Linked DNA regions of Homo sapiens: region 1 is linked to region 2. The links are contacts of gene promoters, found by promoter capture Hi-C in blood cells and fetal thymus (Javierre and others, 2016). All regions are on one chromosome and are shown on one strand. The core of a region is centred on a gene start or on the middle of the fragment in contact, and the rest is flanking DNA. Distances in the headings are between cores, read along the strand shown.

Region 1 (5,325 bases), core at 2,336-4,835, 420 kb after region 2:
GAGAGATTAAGTGATGTGCCCAGTTACTTAGAGTCACATAGCCAGCAGTGGGAGAGGTGGGACTTGAACTCGGCTCAGTCTACCCTGGAGCCACTCCTCTGCTGACCAGGCGTGGGAGTGCTGGACCCTCACTGCCCTGCCGCTTCCTAGGGGACATGTTGCTGCTTTGGGGCCGGCTCACCTGGAGGAAGATGTGCAGGAAGCTGTTGGACATGACTTTCAGCTCCAAGACCAACACGCTGGTGGTGAGGCAGCGCTGCGGGCGGCCAGGAGGTGGGGTGCTGCTGCGGTATGGGAGCCAGCTTGCTCCTGAAACCTTCTACAGAGGTATGGCCAGGCCTTCTCCACCTCCCTTGGGTGCTCCAGTCCTGGCAGGGAGGCTGGGTGGGTGCTGCTGGGGATGGGGCCAGTCCCAGTGGGGCAGTGGGAAGATACGGAGGGAACTGACTGAGATGGAAGGAACTGGGGTTGGCCAGTGTCAGTCTGCACGTGCCAGGGAGGGGTCACAGGATGAATGCTATATCCCTCCTTTTTGGGACCGTGCAGCAAGATGGACGGATGTGGGACATGGTCCACATCCTCAGTCAGTCCCTCAGGCCTCTGCCCCACACCCACCTGCCCCGCCCCCACCCCTCCAGCCTTTCAAGGGCTTTTAGGGTTTTGTGGAAGCCACTGTCCCTCAGCCCTGTTTCAGTGCACTGGTGTAAGCAGACATGCTTGTACATGCATGTGCACCCACAAGCACACCTCAGGCAGAGGATGCCACCTCAGGGACTCCAGCCTTGCCCGTGGCCCCCTCGATATCCTCTGATAGCCCTCTCGGTTGTCCTGGGGGGCTTGCCCTCTCCCAACAGCCCGAGCTGGCCGAAGTTGGCTTCCCTAGCTGGTTCCAGAGGTTCCTCGGCTCCCCCAGGTGTCTGGGGCTTAGTGGCAACAGGGGCTTAGCCTCTGCAGAGACCTAGTGCGCCGCCTCCTTGCCCCAGACCTGCCCGGGCAGAGAGCCGTGTATGTGTCCCAGTGCACAGGCGCTGCTGGGCCCTGCCAAAAGGCCACAAGCCCACTGTCACCGTTCACATTGCTTCTCGCTTCCCGGCCCAGCCCCGCCCACACAGGCATCTGCCTTGAAAGAGGTGCAGGAGGTACAGGCAGGTGGGGGCTCCAGTGAGCTCTGAGGAACAGCAGTGGCCGCCATGGGTGGAGCCTATCTTTGTTGCCAGTTTCAGTGTTAAACACTCTTGCACGTGTGACATCATTGAGTCCTAAAGACCACTCTGCTCAGTGCATGCCATTGTTTCCTTCAGTTACAGAGGAGGGAACCAGAGCCCAGAACATTTAGCCTTTGCCTAAAGTCACTGGGCCAGGAAGTGGTAGAGGTGGGGTTCAGCAGGATTTGCCTGGGAACCCCAATATTGACCACAGTGCCATGCTGCCCTGCACGGCTCCCTGGCTGTGAGTTGTCCTGGCCTCTGGCACCACCGGTCTGTCTGGGTTCCTATGTCCCTATGTCCCACCTGCAGAATGTGACATGCAGCTCTTTGGGCCCTGGGGTGAAATCGTGAGCCCCTCGCTGAGTCCAGCCACGAGTAATGCAGGGGGCTGCCGGCTCTTCATTAATGTGGCTCCGCACGCACGGATTGCCATCCATGCCCTGGCCACCAACATGGGCGCTGGGACCGAGGGAGCCAATGCCAGCTACATCTTGGTGAGGCCCAGCATGGGGACTTGTGCTGTGATTCTGGACAGCTTTCCCTAGGGCGTGCAGGGCTAGGGGACCCCCTTCAGTTTATTTCAGACTAAAACCCTCAAAATCATTAGTGAAAGAATGGGAGAAGATAGCTTCCTCCACATATTCACCAAGAAATGTTTTTTGAGCTACCTACAAGAGTGAAATAGTGGCTCACAACTGTAATCCCAGCACTTTGGGAGGCCCAGGAGGGCAGATCACTCAAGGTCAGGAGTTCGAGACCAGCCTGGCCAACATGATGAAACCTTGTCTCTACTAAAAATAGAAAAAGTAGCCAGGCATGGTGGCGTGTGCCTGTAATCCCAGCTACTTGGGAGGCTGAGGCACAAGAATCACTTGAACCCGGGAGGTGGAGGTTGCACTAAGCCCAGATCGCACCACTGCACTCCAGCCTGGGCAACAGAGTGAGACTCTGTCTCAAAAAAAAAAAAAAAAAAAAAGCGAAATGGTAAAGAATGGTAAAGACCTTTCTGATGTAGACTGACAGCTAACCCAAGACTGAAGCATAATTTTACAGTCTGATATAACTTGGACAGAATAGCACCCTGCACCCTCCCCGAGGTTTCAAGTGTCCTGGGAGAACTGTGTTCTGCAGGGTATCAGCTTCCCCAGAGGAGGCAGCCTGGCCCCGCTCTGGCACCCTGACTGTGTGTCCTTGGGGAAGTGATGTAACGTCCCTGGACCTCGGTTTTCTGGGTAGAGTAATGGCGTATTCCTAGTAGGGCTTTGTAAGCATTAAATGTGATCCGGAATCTGTGAGCCCTTGCACACGAAGGCTTCCGTGAGTGCTAATTATTACTTGTGGCCGGTCCTTCTGGGCTGCCCCTTTTCTCTCAGATCCGGGACACCCACAGCTTGAGGACCACAGCGTTCCATGGGCAGCAGGTGCTCTACTGGGAGTCAGAGAGCAGCCAGGCTGAGATGGAGTTCAGCGAGGGCTTCCTGAAGGCTCAGGCCAGCCTGCGGGGCCAGTACTGGACCCTCCAATCATGGGTACCGGAGATGCAGGACCCTCAGTCCTGGAAGGGAAAGGAAGGAACCTGAGGGTCATTGAACATTTGTTCCGTGTCTGGCCAGCCCTGGAGGGTTGACCCCTGGTCTCAGTGCTTTCCAATTCGAACTTTTTCCAATCTTAGGTATCTACTTTAGAGTCTTCTCCAATGTCCAAAAGGCTAGGGGGTTGGAGGTGGGGACTCTGGAAAAGCAGCCCCCATTTCCTCGGGTACCAATAAATAAAACATGCAGGCTGACCGGCGTTTTTTTCTTATAAGCTGTCCAGACCTGGCTTGAAAACCCATCCCATGGCAAGGCAGGGATTCGCTGGCCGCGGTTGGCTCTATCTTGATCTGAGCAAGCCGCTGGACGTCCCTAGTTATCTTCTTCCTATCCAGGAAGAAAATCCAATCAGGATTCCACTCCGAGGATGGCGCATTAGCCAGCTCCCTGCGAAGCCCCACCCGTGTGTCCTGGTGTGAGGCTCTGACCGCTAAGGTGTCTGCGCGCCTCCAGGCCCCGCCCCCTATGCTAATAAGCGCCCGCCTCCTTTGGGAGCAAGTCGCCGCAAACTGCGAGCCCCCGCCCCCTACGCTAATGACGCCCGCCCCCCTCGGGCACACCTCTCCGATGCCTGCGAGCCCCGCCCCGTATGCTAACGAGCTCCCCACCCCCAGCTCCTCGCCGCAGCCTGCGGGTCCCGCCCCCTACAATAATGAGCACCTACCTCCCCTCAAACGCCCCTAGTCGCGGCATGAGGGTCCCGCTCACTATGTTAATGAGCACCCGCCTCCCTTCGGGCGCGCCTCGCCGCAGCCTGAAAGCCCCGCCCCCTATGCTAATATGCTCCCTCTCCCACAAGGCAGCGCGCCGGCTCGGACGCGGCCGGCTACCGAGCCCTTTGTGAGGGCTGTGAGCTGCGCCTGACGGTGGCACCATGAGCAGCTCAGGTGGGGCGCCCGGGGCGTCCGCCAGCTCTGCGCCGCCCGCGCAGGAAGAGGGCATGACGTGGTGGTACCGCTGGCTGTGTCGCCTGTCTGGGGTGCTGGGGGCAGTCTGTGAGTATCCAGTCGGGGAGAGGGGCCGGCCCCGCCGCGCATGCGCTCCTCGCCCTGCCCTGCCCCGCCCCGCCCCGGCGGCCCCAGGGGAAAGGACCCGCTGGGGGTCGGGGGTCTGCCGGGCGCCTCCCGGGGCGGAGGAATGGCGGGGCCGCCGGGAGCCGGCGTCCTGGGGTTGCCATGGTTACCCGCTCGGGCCTGGGCGCCTTGGTACCCCGGGCTGGGCTGGGCTGGCGCTTCTGGGAACATTCCCGGAGGGACCAGAAACCCCAGGGCGGGGGGGCGGCGGGGGCGGGGGTGGGGCACCGGCCTGGGGCACGTGACTGAGCCCTCCCCCCGCTCCCCAGGGGCTTTTGTGAGACTTTCTCGGTGATGCTCACGGGGCGCATGCCCACCTGGCCCGTACTAAAGCGTCAACTGTTGACTTGGGCGTAGGTGACGGCAGCCACATTGCTAACCTTTGGGCAAGGATTGTTTGTAAGGGAGGCGGGTGCACGGCTGGCTAGATTTCTGGCAGGAAGCCACTGGGCGGAAGTTTGCTGAGGGTCAGGTGGTGTCAGGGCACAGGTGGCCCCTGGGGCCGCGGGGCAGTGAGCTGAGGGCCCGGCCTCTCCCTGGGTCCTCTGTCCGCTCTCATATCTCCCCCGTTGCTGCTGCCTTAGCCGCCTGTCACCGGCCTTCCTCCCCTTCTCCGCACGCATCCCAGTCACAGACCCTGACCTTAGGCTGCCAGGGAAGCTAGGCTCTTAAGCACAGCCAGAAAAGGACAAAGAGGGAGGCAGGTCAGCTCCAGGAGTGAATGGAAGCCGTACAGCTGGCCTTCCAGGGAAAGACAAGTCTGTCTGAGTGATACCCTTTCCTTTCCTGTCTGCCCTCAATCTTGTGGATTACTGGAGTGGGCAAGGTCTTAGAGAATGTCTGTCGAGGATGTCTGCAGGTTTTAAACAGTGCCTGCCTGGCAGAGAGGGCTAGCTCTGGGCCTGGGCAGGGCAGGCCCCATCAGCAATCCTGCCAGAAGGACCACCTTTTCAGGGTCACCTTGGGTTCCACAGCCTTTCCAGGTGGGTAGAGGGTGGAGGGAGGTTGAGGCAGGAGGGTGCTGGGCTAGGAGTGTGCTGCCCTCGCTAGGCATGCCCTTATCCAGAGGCAACGGATACGGTAGGGCAGGCCCTACCCCCAAATCACAAAAAGGCCCCGAGTTTGTGTCACTGCTCTTCAGGGCAAGTACGCTTTTGACTTTGTAGGAGAGACTGGTGGGTTTGAAGTTAGGCATTGGATCCAGTCCTGTCATGTCTGGTTAGCTGTTTTCCCTGCAGATTAGGGTGGGCAGTGCAGTGGGGTGACATGGTCAGTGGTGAGAAAGGAAAGGTCCTGACTATGGCCTGTAGGCCACACCTCCTTCCTTCTTGGTCAGTGGCCCTGCCGACTCCCAGATTTGCTGTGGAGTCTTACTCAGTTCTGTGCCTCTCAAAGTGAGGTACCTCTGCCTTTCCTGGGAGTTCCTGGGGCTCTGTTGGGTCTACAGATGAA
Region 2 (4,831 bases), core at 634-3,133:
ATCTTTCCAAGGGGCAGTTCGGATTTTTCACAAGGCAATGGGAAGGCATTTAGTCCATGGCAACCGAGTCTCTAAGACTAATTTGGTTAAGTGACTCTTCAGAGTTTGGTTCATTCTCTCCACTCTTCCTGATGAAGGTGGGTGCCAGGGAGTGTGGTATTCCCCTGCTATGTCTAGTACTTGGGCTAGTTTCTTGACGGCATGTGCAGTGAAATGAGTCCCATTATCTGAATCAATATTTTGTATTAATCTGTTAAACCTGGGTATAATATTCTCAATCAATGCTTTAATTACATTATTAGCAGTTGCACTTGAAAAGGGAATAGGTTCCCTCCAGTGCGTAAGGTGATCTACTATCACTAATAAGTACTTTAGGCAACCGACTGGGGGCATTTCGGTGTAATCAATTTGGACACTTTGGGACGGTCTTAACCCTGGACTCCTTTCCCCCAGGGAGTGGTTTTCTTAGGGTCTGCTTATTAGTCTTTTTGCATATTAGACAACTATCTGTAACTTGTCTTTCCAGAGTATAAATTCCTATACATCCCTAAACCCTGAGAACTGCATCACACATGGCTTGGGGTCCCCAGTGAATTCCTTGATGCAGCTGAGATAAGACTTCTCTCTTGAGGGGTTTGGATAACATTTCTCTTTGGTCTGGTAACACCCATTTCCCTTCAGAATTCTCTTTGGCCCCTATTTTTATTAATTTCCCTTTTTCAGTGGAAGAGAAGATGGGAACTGCGGTCGGGGGAGGAAGACAAGGGGTTAGGTGAAAAGTGAGCGTTTTGAGGAAATGGCAGCTTGTTTGGCTATTTGATCTGCAAGGTTATTACCTCGACTTTCACAAGAAAGACCTTTCTGGTGTCCTGGGACATGGACAGTAGCTATTTCTTCTGGCAGCTGGAGGTTACCTAACACTTGGGTGATTAATTCCTTGTGGGCAAGGTCTTGGCCTTTGCTATTAATGAGACCTCGTTCGGTCCAAATTTTTCCAAAGGTATGAGCTAGCCCGAAGGCGTACTTGGAATCAGAATAAATAGTTCCTTCTTGGTTTTGCAAGTGCTTTAAGGCTTGATTCATTGCAAACAATTCACATGTTTGGGCAGACCAATGACTGGGCAGCCTTCCTGACCCTCCTTCTGCAAGGGCTTCCCCATAGACTACTGAATATCCATTATGTCTTTTTCCTTCAGTTACCTGGGAAGAGCCATCTATAAATAAGTGCTGCCCTGTTTGAAAGGGGTCTCCCTTACATCGGGCCTGAATCTAAACACTCATGCTCAGGTCCTTTTAGATTTGGATTCCCTGTTAGGAGACCTGCTGGGTTAAGTGAATTATCAGTGGTTAGTGTTAAATCATCTCTCTAATAGGATAGCTTCATACTTTAAAATTTTTGAGTCAGTGAGCCATCTCCCTGCTTTCTGGTTTAAGATAGTTCTAACTTGATGAGGCGTGCTCACAACTAAATCTCCCCCAAAGGTCAGCTTTCTGCTTTCTTCAGTTAACAAAGCCGTAGCCGCAATGGATTGAATACATTCAAGCCATCCACAGGTTACTGGATCTAAAACTTTCGACAGGAACACCACAGGTTGCCAGTGACCCCCGTGTTCTTGAGTAAGTACCCCTAAAGCTACCCCCTTCTTTACATTAATGAAAAGATGAGATGGCTTTTCTAGGGAAGGCAGGGCTAGGACGGGGCAGTTATGAGCATATGTTTTAGTTCTTCAACCTGGTGGATTTCTTCAGAGGTCCACAGAAGAGGGTCAGGCTTTTCTTGGGCAAGCTTTAGGTATAAAGATTTTGTTTTTAGGGCATATGAGTCAATCCGTAAGCGGCAATATCCAACCAATCCTAGGAATGTTACGAGTTCCTGCTTAGTTTTAGGCAAAGTTAAGAAGGACACGATCCCTTCGACGTGTTCAGTTCCTGTCCTTCGTATCAAGTGTCCTAGGTATTTAACTTCTGGCTCTACAGATTGAAGCTTTCCCTTTGAAACCCCATAACCCTTTTCCTTGCAAATGGTTAAGGAGGTGGACGGAGAGGGCAGCTATCCGTTCTGTAGCTTCACCAGATACCAGCGGGTCATCCACGTATTGGAGCAGGCATGTGTTTTGGGGTAGAAATTTGTTCTAGAACTTGTTCTAGAATCTGACCGAAGAGGTTAGAGGAGTCTGTGAAGTCTTGGGGGAGAACTGTCCGTCGATACTGTTGCTTCCGTCCGGAATGGGGATCTTTCCATTCGCAAGCAAAAATGTCTCGGCTGTCCTCAGACAAGGGGCATGCCCAAAAAGCATCTTAAATATATTACTGTAAACCACTGATGGTCGTATGGAATTTTGCTGAGGAGGGTGTAAGGATTAGGGACAACAGGGTGAGTAGTCTGGAATATCTGGCTGATGGCCCAGAGGCCTTGCACTAGTCAGTATGACCCATCTGACTTTCTTACAGGCAGTATTGGGATAAGGGGACACACCGGGTTCAAGGAGCCCGTCCCTAATGAGACTCTCAATGATAGGTTTTAGGCCTATTCTGCCTTCTAAGGGGATGGGATATTGCTTCCTTCTTACTATTTCCCCCCGGGGTTTTTAACTTTATATGTATGGTGGGGGGGTGGGACTTGGAGTCTTCCCCAATTCCCTTCCCTTGACCAGAGATCGGGATGAATGTATTTTTCTTCATGGTGGTAAGTAGGTTTAATGAGGTGAGGAATCCTTCTGGGCTAACATGTAAACCTATACCTAACTTTAAGTCTCTTCCTAACGGGTTAGTTCCTGCTTCAGGGATTAGCAGAAATTTAACGTGGGCTGTTCGATTTTTATGTTTGAACTCTGCGTCTTCTAAGATTTTTGCTCTAAATCCTTCTCCCTTTACCCCTGAAACAAAAAGCTCTTCTGAGGAGCAGCTGACGCTAGACGGAAGGGAACAAACAGAAGAGCGAGCAGCACCCTTCTGCAGAAGTAAACTTAGCACATTTAGTTCTGCAGAAGAAAGGTGCTGTGCTGCTCGCTCTTCTGGCCACCAGAGCACACGGAACAAAGGAGGAAAGGTTCCTGTGTCTTGTCCCACTGGCTGGAGTTGGACCGCACAATCTAAGCTGATCTCGATTGGCTATTTCAAATAGAACAGGGATGTGGGTTACAGTGGCTGGATGAGCGGTTTCGCCAGGAAGAATAGTTTCGGCGGGAAGGGCAGTTACAGAGCGGGTAACTAAGGGCAAGGAGGCGCAAAGAACAAGGAAGTTAGACTTTGAAGATGGAGAACAAAGAAGAAGGGAGTTGAACAAGCTGAACCTTTGAGGAGGAACTCACTCAACCTGGATATCTAATATCCGGGACACTGAGAGAGGGACGGAGTTGCTGGACGGCGGCTGAAGGGGAGAGTCTACCCGGGCGTGTGGTTTCCTTGGCAACGGAGAGTGTGGTGGACTCTGGGTGCCCAATGGGCAGGGCTTTGGTATCTGTAATTGCCAGGAACAGCCTTTTTCTCCCCAGGGGACAGAGGGGAAGGGACTGTGGGGGAGACCCCTAGGAGCTTTTTTTTTTTTTTTTTTGAGACGGAGTCTGGCTCCGTCGCCCAGGCTGGAGTGCAGTGGCGCGATCTCGGCTCACTGTAACCTCCGCCTCCCGGGTTCAAGCAGTTCTCCTGCCTCAGCCTCCTGAGTAGCTGGGATTATAGACACCCACCACCACGCCCGGCTAATTTTTGTTTTTTTTTTTTTAGTAGAGTTGGGGTTTCACCATGTTGGCCAGGCTGGTCTCGAACTCCTGACCTCAGGTGATCCACCCAGCTCGGCCTCCCAAAGTGCTGGGATTACAGGTGTGAGCCACTGCGCCCGGCTCCTAGGGGCTTTTTTTTCATTCCATCCACAAATGTGAGCCACAGCCTGGGCACTGGTGCCAGGAATGCAACTCTGCAGCCCCACAGGGTGTGTTGCACTGCCGTATCCTCATTACCCGGGGTAGAAAACTGAGGCACGGGGAGATGAAGCTCTGTTGACTTACCTGAGAGGGATAGACTGTTATGTTGTTAGGATTAGAGGTAGTGATGGTTGACATCTTATTCTCTGCCACGTACGGCTCTAGGTGCCTTACTTAGAGTCCGTCCTCTTTAGAACCCTACCAGGTAGGAACTGTCAGAGTCTGTATTTTACGGGGGAAGGAACTTGTTCGAGGTCACACAGCAAGTGGGGCAGCTGGAGGATGCTATGTGTAAGTTCTTTACATGTACCAGAACTTGAAGTGTCTCTTTAGAGAAGTTTTCCCTGATTGCCCTAACTAAAGTGGCCACTGGCAATTATCTGCCTCCTCATCCTGTTAATTCCAATCTGAAAATGTTTTAAAATGTTTATTCTGACAAAGGCTTATACATATAAAACATTTAAGAAAAAAGGAAAAAAAAATTTACTGTCTCTCGTCCTCTTGACCCTAAGACTGTCAACTCCATGAGAGTGGGGACTTCTTTTGTTCACTTCTGTACTTCTTTATTTTTATTTTTTTATTTTTTGAGACAGGGTTTCATTCTGTCACCAAGGCTGGAGTGCAGTAGAGCAATTATGGCTCACTGCAACCTCAACCTCCTAGGCTCGGGTGATCTTCTCACCTCACCCTGCCAGGTAGCTGGGACTATAGGCATGCACCACCACGCCCAGCTAGTTTTTGGTATTTTTTGTAGAGACGTGGTCTCCCTAAGTTGTCCAGGATGGTCTCGAACTCCTGGGCTCAAGCGATCCGCCTGCCTTGGCTTCCCAAAGGGCTGGAATACATGCATATGAATCTGCCGGGATCTTGCTAAATGAGCCACCATGCCTGGCCCAGTTCTCTGTTCCTAA

What was found. Contacts are between HindIII fragments. The CHiCAGO score rates a contact against its expected background, and 5 or more counts as called.
Region 1: the fragment with the promoter of CACFD1 here is called in contact with a fragment that was not itself captured in region 2 in 1 of 17 cell types (total B cells); the score reaches 5.0 in total B cells.

What each region holds. Positions count from the first base shown.
Region 1 is chr9:133,456,393-133,461,717 of GRCh38, forward strand. CACFD1 (calcium channel flower domain containing 1) reads left to right here and starts at 3,586. Exons shown (of 5, transcript NM_017586.5): 1 at 3,586-3,795. The coding sequence starts at 3,675. It overlaps ADAMTS13 (ADAM metallopeptidase with thrombospondin type 1 motif 13), which reads left to right. Exons shown (of 29, transcript NM_139027.6): 27 at 151-327; 28 at 1,518-1,702; 29 at 2,582-2,994. The coding sequence ends at 2,788. RefSeq lists silencers at 61-213, 3,182-3,401, 3,412-3,511, 3,802-4,101 and enhancers at 664-1,531, 1,055-1,349. The HindIII fragment of the contact is 16,509 bases long and covers 1-5,324 here.
Region 2 is chr9:133,034,916-133,039,746 of GRCh38, forward strand. All of the region lies in intron 1 of GTF3C5 (general transcription factor IIIC subunit 5), which reads left to right. Among named protein-coding and RNA genes, the nearest start is that of GTF3C5, 6.3 kb to the left of the region's middle. The HindIII fragment of the contact is 198 bases long and covers 1,785-1,982 here.